Regions from separate parts of the Homo sapiens genome. Here region 1 is linked to region 2. Evidence: promoter capture Hi-C in 16 types of primary human blood cells and fetal thymus (Javierre and others, 2016). All regions are on one chromosome and are shown on one strand. Each heading gives the region's core, a stretch centred on a gene start or on the middle of the fragment in contact. The rest is flanking DNA. Distances are from core to core; before and after follow the strand shown. Region 1 overlaps IMMT (inner membrane mitochondrial protein). Region 2 holds the start of C2orf68 (chromosome 2 open reading frame 68).

What was found. Contacts are between HindIII fragments. The CHiCAGO score rates a contact against its expected background, and 5 or more counts as called.
Region 1: a fragment that was not itself captured here is called in contact with the fragment with the promoter of C2orf68 in region 2 in 2 of 17 cell types (erythroblasts and monocytes); the score reaches 5.9 in erythroblasts.

Annotation. Positions count from the first base shown.
Region 1 is chr2:86,164,905-86,167,604 of GRCh38, forward strand. IMMT (inner membrane mitochondrial protein) reads right to left here. Exons shown (of 15, transcript NM_006839.3): 7 at 1,604-1,740. Among named protein-coding and RNA genes, the nearest start is that of MIR4779, 27 kb to the right of the region's middle. The HindIII fragment of the contact is 1,938 bases long and covers 315-2,252 here.
Region 2 is chr2:85,610,813-85,613,512 of GRCh38, forward strand. C2orf68 (chromosome 2 open reading frame 68) reads right to left here and starts at 1,254. Exons shown (of 4, transcript NM_001013649.4): 1 at 1,066-1,254; 2 at 856-974. The coding sequence starts at 1,172. It also overlaps a transcript of USP39 not described here. RefSeq lists silencers at 1,025-1,406, 1,026-1,095, 1,582-1,754 and an enhancer at 1,366-1,595. The HindIII fragment of the contact is 26,854 bases long and covers 1-2,700 here.

The sequences.
Region 1 (2,700 bases), core at 34-2,533, 550 kb after region 2:
CTCTTCACAAACACTGCTTTGTGAAAGTTATTCAGTATATATTAGAAATTACATGTGCACCTGTAGCTTCTTGTACTAGAAAAAACAAAAGCTGGAATTCATTCTTAACATTCCAAAATGTGTTCATACATTTTTCCAATTATTTTGTACATTAGCTAATACTCTCATCTGTTAACTGCTACCATTAGATTGTAAAATCTTGACTGCAATAGATTTTACACTGTCTAATCACCATGTGCTACACATTATGTGCGTTAGGAAGATGAAATACCACCTTGTGTACCCTTATACCCAAGTAGTAACATGGCATTTAAAGCTTCCAATCCGTGTCCTTCTGAGGGATACTGGTCTACTTGGGTTTGAACCCAACACCCTTACATCACGCAACTTCTAGCCTTCCCATATCGGTAACCAGCAAATTAAATTTCCTGGGTGGTTTCCACTTTGCTGACTGAACTCTGATATTTAAGTATTTTTCTTGGACTTTGAATAAAATGGAATTTTCCTTAAAATTTCAAAGGTTGTAGTTTCTTGCTACTAACATCAGAGGTCTAATTAAACTCTTTTGTAATATAAGTACATACGACTGAAACAATGTAAAGTGTGTGTAAAATTTTTTTTAAAACTACAATTATGATGGCAAAGTAACTTTACTGACCATGTATGATCCTGATCCTTAAGATTAATAATTTATGCATTTTACTTTAATTTACTCCTTAAATGACTTGGAATAGAGATACATTTATACATACTGAATAACTTAATGTAATTATAAAATAATGTATTAAGTCCCAGTATTAAATTTTGAAAAATCAATGTTATTACTTCATTCTTTGAAGTGTTTCGCATAAATAATCATAAACATTTAAAATAGCAGGTGTTTCAGGGAACATGAGAGCTCTCTGTATTATTTCTTAAAACTGCATGTGAAGTTTGAGAAGTATCTTAAAAAGTTTACCTATGGAAATAGCAATTTTAAAGCAAACAACAAAAATATTTAAGTGCTATTAAAATATGAAAGCAAATCTGAACTAATTCTTGCGCTGCATCGGTGTTGTAAGATATAGTAAAGCACAATGTATAAAATTCATTCTAAAAAACTTAAAGGCTTTTTTCAGTTTGTTTTTTAAACATAATTACTCTAAGGCCAAGCACAGTGGCTCACGCCTGTAATCCCAACATTTTGGGAGGCCGAGGCAGGCAAATCACTTGAGGTCAAGAGTTCCAGTCCAGCCTGGCCAAAATGGCAAACCCTGTCTCTACTAAAAGTACAAAAATTAGCCGGGTATGGTGGCGGGAGCCTGTAATCCCAGCTACTCGGGAGGCTGAGGCAGGAGAATCGCTTGAACCTGGGAGGTGGAGGTTGCAATGAGCCGAGATCGCACCACTGGACTCCAGCCCGGGCGACAGAGCAAGACTCCGTCTCAAAACAATAACAAAAAAAGATTAATTATTCCAGACTATCTTCCCCTAGTGAGAGAAAGCCGATATCATACGGAAGAAAGCAGTCTGTTAAATATTACACTTCTCTCCACCCTCGATTTTTCTTTTTGTCCTCCAAGTCATGACAGCCAGAACACTTCTAATCATTCATTGGGCTCACCTCAGAATTGTCCATGGCGGCTTTCAATATGTTGGAGTGTGCATTGACAGCCTGGACCGCAGCATTCTGAGCTGCAATAGCCTGCAGAGTGACACTTGCAGTTTGCCTCAGAGCATCTTCTAAGCTCTTGGCTAGAGCTTAAAAAAAAAAAAGAACAGTTAAAAAACAAATCCTACCCCCATAAATGACTTTAAACTTTTGCTGTTCTCCTATCTAGTCTTCCATTGCATTTCCCAAAAAATTTAAAAAGGAACAAAATACATGAGACTCAAATTTAGGGAATCAAAGTTTCACTTAAAAGTATGGTAAAGGCCGGGCGCAGTGGCTCATGCCTGTAATCCCAGCACTTTGGGAGGCCGAGGCGGGCGTATCACAAGGTCAGGAGTTTGAGACCAACCTGACCAATGTGGTGAAACCCCGTCTCTACTAAAAATACAAAAATTAGCCAGGCATGGTGGCGGGTGCCTGTAGTTCCAGCTACCTGGGAGGCTGAGGCAGGAGAATCGCTTGAACCTGGGAGGTGGAGCTTGCAGTGAGCCGAGATCATGCCACTGCACTCTAGCCTGGGCGACAGAGCGAGACTCTCTCAAAAAAAAAAAAGAAAACATGGTAAAATACTGATAATTTAGTCTGGATGATAAATCTATGAAGCTTTATTACACTTCTTTTTTTTTTTTTTTTTGAGACAGAGTCTCGCTCTGTCGCCCAGGCTGGAGTGCAGTGGCGCGATCTCGGCTCACTGCAAGCTCCGCCTCCCGGGTTCACGCCATTCTCCTACCTCAGCCTCCCGAGTAGCTGGGACTACAGGTGCATACCACCACGCCCAGCTAATTTTTTTGTATTTCTTAGTAGAGACGGGGTTTCACCATGTTAGCCAGGATAGTCTCCATCTACTGACCCCATGATCCGCCCACCCTGGACTCCCAAAGTGCTGGGATTACAGGCGTGAGCCACCGTGCCCGGTTTTTTGTTTTTTGTTTTTTTTTTTTTTTTTGGAGACGGAGTCCCACTCTATCGCCCAGGCTAGAGTGCAGTGGCACCGTCTCAGTTCACTGCAACCTCCGCCTCCTGGGTTCAGGCGATTCTCCTGCCTCAGC
Region 2 (2,700 bases), core at 4-2,503:
CAGTGGCGCGATCTCGGCTCACTGCAAGCTCCGCCTCCCGGGTTCACGCCATTCTCCTGCCTCAGCCTCCCGAGTAGCTGGGACTACAGGCGCCCACCACCACGCCCGGCTAATTTTTTGTATTTTTAGTAGAGACGGGGGTTTCACCATGTTAGCCAGGATGGTCTCGATCTCCTGACCTCGTGATCCGCCCGCCTCGGCCTCCCAAAGTGCTGGGATTACAGGCGAGAGCCACCGCGCCCAGCCGGGGAAACCCCTTCTCTACAAGAAATACCAAAATTAACCGGTGTGGTGGCACACGCCTGTGGTCCCAGGTACTCGGGAGGCTAAGGCTGCAGTAAGCCCAGATCGCACCATTGCACTCCAGCCTGGGCGACAGAGACCTAGTCTCAAAAATAAAATAAAAACATTTTAAAAAAAGTAATAATGCTTAACAAAAATTGACCGTCATATATTAACCAGTGTGATCTCTAGGTAGCAGAGAAGCTGGGGAAAGGCCATTTACTGGGTTCATTCCGCAATTATGTGCTGGTCGCTCATCGCTGTGCCAGACTTTCTCTTTGCTAGGTAGCGGAGCACCTTACTAAAATACAGCACGGTGGGGCAAACCGGCAGATAAACTTCTTGCTGGCTCCCCGATACTCTGACAGCGATGCTTAACTGGGGGCTTATGAGTCGTCCCAGTTCTTGGTGAGAATCATTCAGCGGAGATTTGGGAGCGCTGAGGTGGAGGTTCCGGAAAGAGACGAGATGAGCTGAACCTTAGGAGTAAGAAGTGGTTTTTCCCTATAGAGAAGGGGAGTGCGTTGCAGGAAGAGCGCGCGGGCTGGAGGCAGGCGGGGCGGGCGGCCTCACCTCGGTGTCGCGGCAGGTACACCTGCAGGTCTGGCTTGCGGGGCCGCGTCGGCGCGGGCGTGTGCCGCCTCCTCACCTTCTCCTTGGCCGCCTGCTTCACCTTCTTGTCATAGTCGTCCCTGCGGGGAGCCGAGCGGGAGTCAGGGACTGTCGGGCCGGGCCAGGCCAGGCCAGGAGTGGTGGCGGCGGCGGCGCAGGGCGGGGCGGTACCGAGCGATCTGGTTCCGTCGGATATGGTGCACGAAGCCGTGGTTCATGTCCAGCCGCCCCCCAGGCTTGCAGCAGTGCCCCGGCCGGGGATGCGGCCCCGCCTCCATCAGGAGCCGGGGACGCAGAGTCGCCGCCGCCTCGACGGCCCCAACAACAGCCACCCGCCCACAGAGCTCCGCGCCGCCCCTTGCTCAGCTTCCGGCCCCGCATCCTGACTTCCGGTCTGGGAGGCCCCGGCCTGGCCAAGCGATGCAGCGCACGGAGTTTTCGGGTCTGGTCGGGTCGGGTGGAGTAGGGTATGCTTGACTTCCACCCCCCGGACGGAGGGCTTTTGTTTTTGTTTTTTTTTGTTTGTTTTTTCGTAACATATCAATAGGAAACAAGGACTTCGGCTTACAGCTGATACCAGAACCTTCAGAAAAATGCAAATCATCTATAACACAACTCGATGCTTACGGCGGTGCCTTCCCATCTTTTTTCTGGTAATAGGATGCTGTGCAATCCATCGCCATCTGCGTGACTTTGGCTGACTGTGTAACGCTGCCACTTCTCAGTTTCCTCATTAGTAAATGGGAACACCTAGAGCACCTACCTCAAATGGATTGTGAGGCCTTGAAGTGCTCAGGCAGGGCAACAGCGGCGCCCAGGCCGCAGGCGCCGCGAAGGCTCTCCTGGCCCGGCTTGCCTCCTGCTCACGGCGCCGATGGCTTAACTGTCCCCGCGGGAGGACCCAGGGTTTTTGAGGGACCTACGGGTGTATTATTTTCTTTTTTATTTATTTTTCCTTTTTTTTTTCTTTTTGAGAAGGAGTCTCACTCTGTCGCTCAGGCTGGAGTGCATTGGCGTGATTTCGGCTCACTGCAACCTCCGCCTCCCGGGTTCAAGCGATTCTCCTGCCTCAGCCTCCCGAGTAGCTGGGACTACATGCGCGTGCCACCACGCCCGGCTAAGTTTTGTATTTTTGGTAGAGATAAGGTTTCACCACGTTGGCCAGGCTGGTCTCGAACTCCTGACCTCAGGTGATCCGCCTGCCTCGGCCTCCCAAAGTGTTGGGATTGCAGGCATGAGCCACCGTGCCCGGCCCCTTTTTTTTTTTTTTCTATTTTTTCTGACCACTGGGTTCACGTCACAGCGTGTAAAATTCTCAAGTCCTTTTACAAAAGTCAAAATCAGGAATTCATGATTAGGACAGGGACAAACGGCTGGATGCAGTGGCTCATGTCTGTAATTCCAAAACTTTGGGATGCCGAAGTGGGAGTATCGCTGGAGGGAGGAATTTGAGACCAGCCTGGGCAACACAGCGAGACATCGTCTCTACAAGAAAAAAATACATTAAAAAAGAAAGAAAGAGCCGGGCGTGGTGGCTCACGCCTGTAATCCCAGCACTTTGGGAGGCCCAGGCGGGCAGATCAAGAGGTCAGGAGTTCGAGACTAGCCTGGCCAAAATGGTGAAACCCCGTCTCTACTAAAAAAAAATACAAAAAATTAGCTGGGCTTGATGGCCGGTGCTTGTAATCCCAGCTACTTGGGAGGCTGAGGCAGGAGAATCGCTTGAACCCGGGAGGCGGAGGTTGCAGTCAGCCGAGATCGAGCCACTGCAGTCCAACCTCCAAATCAAAAAACAAAAAACAAAAA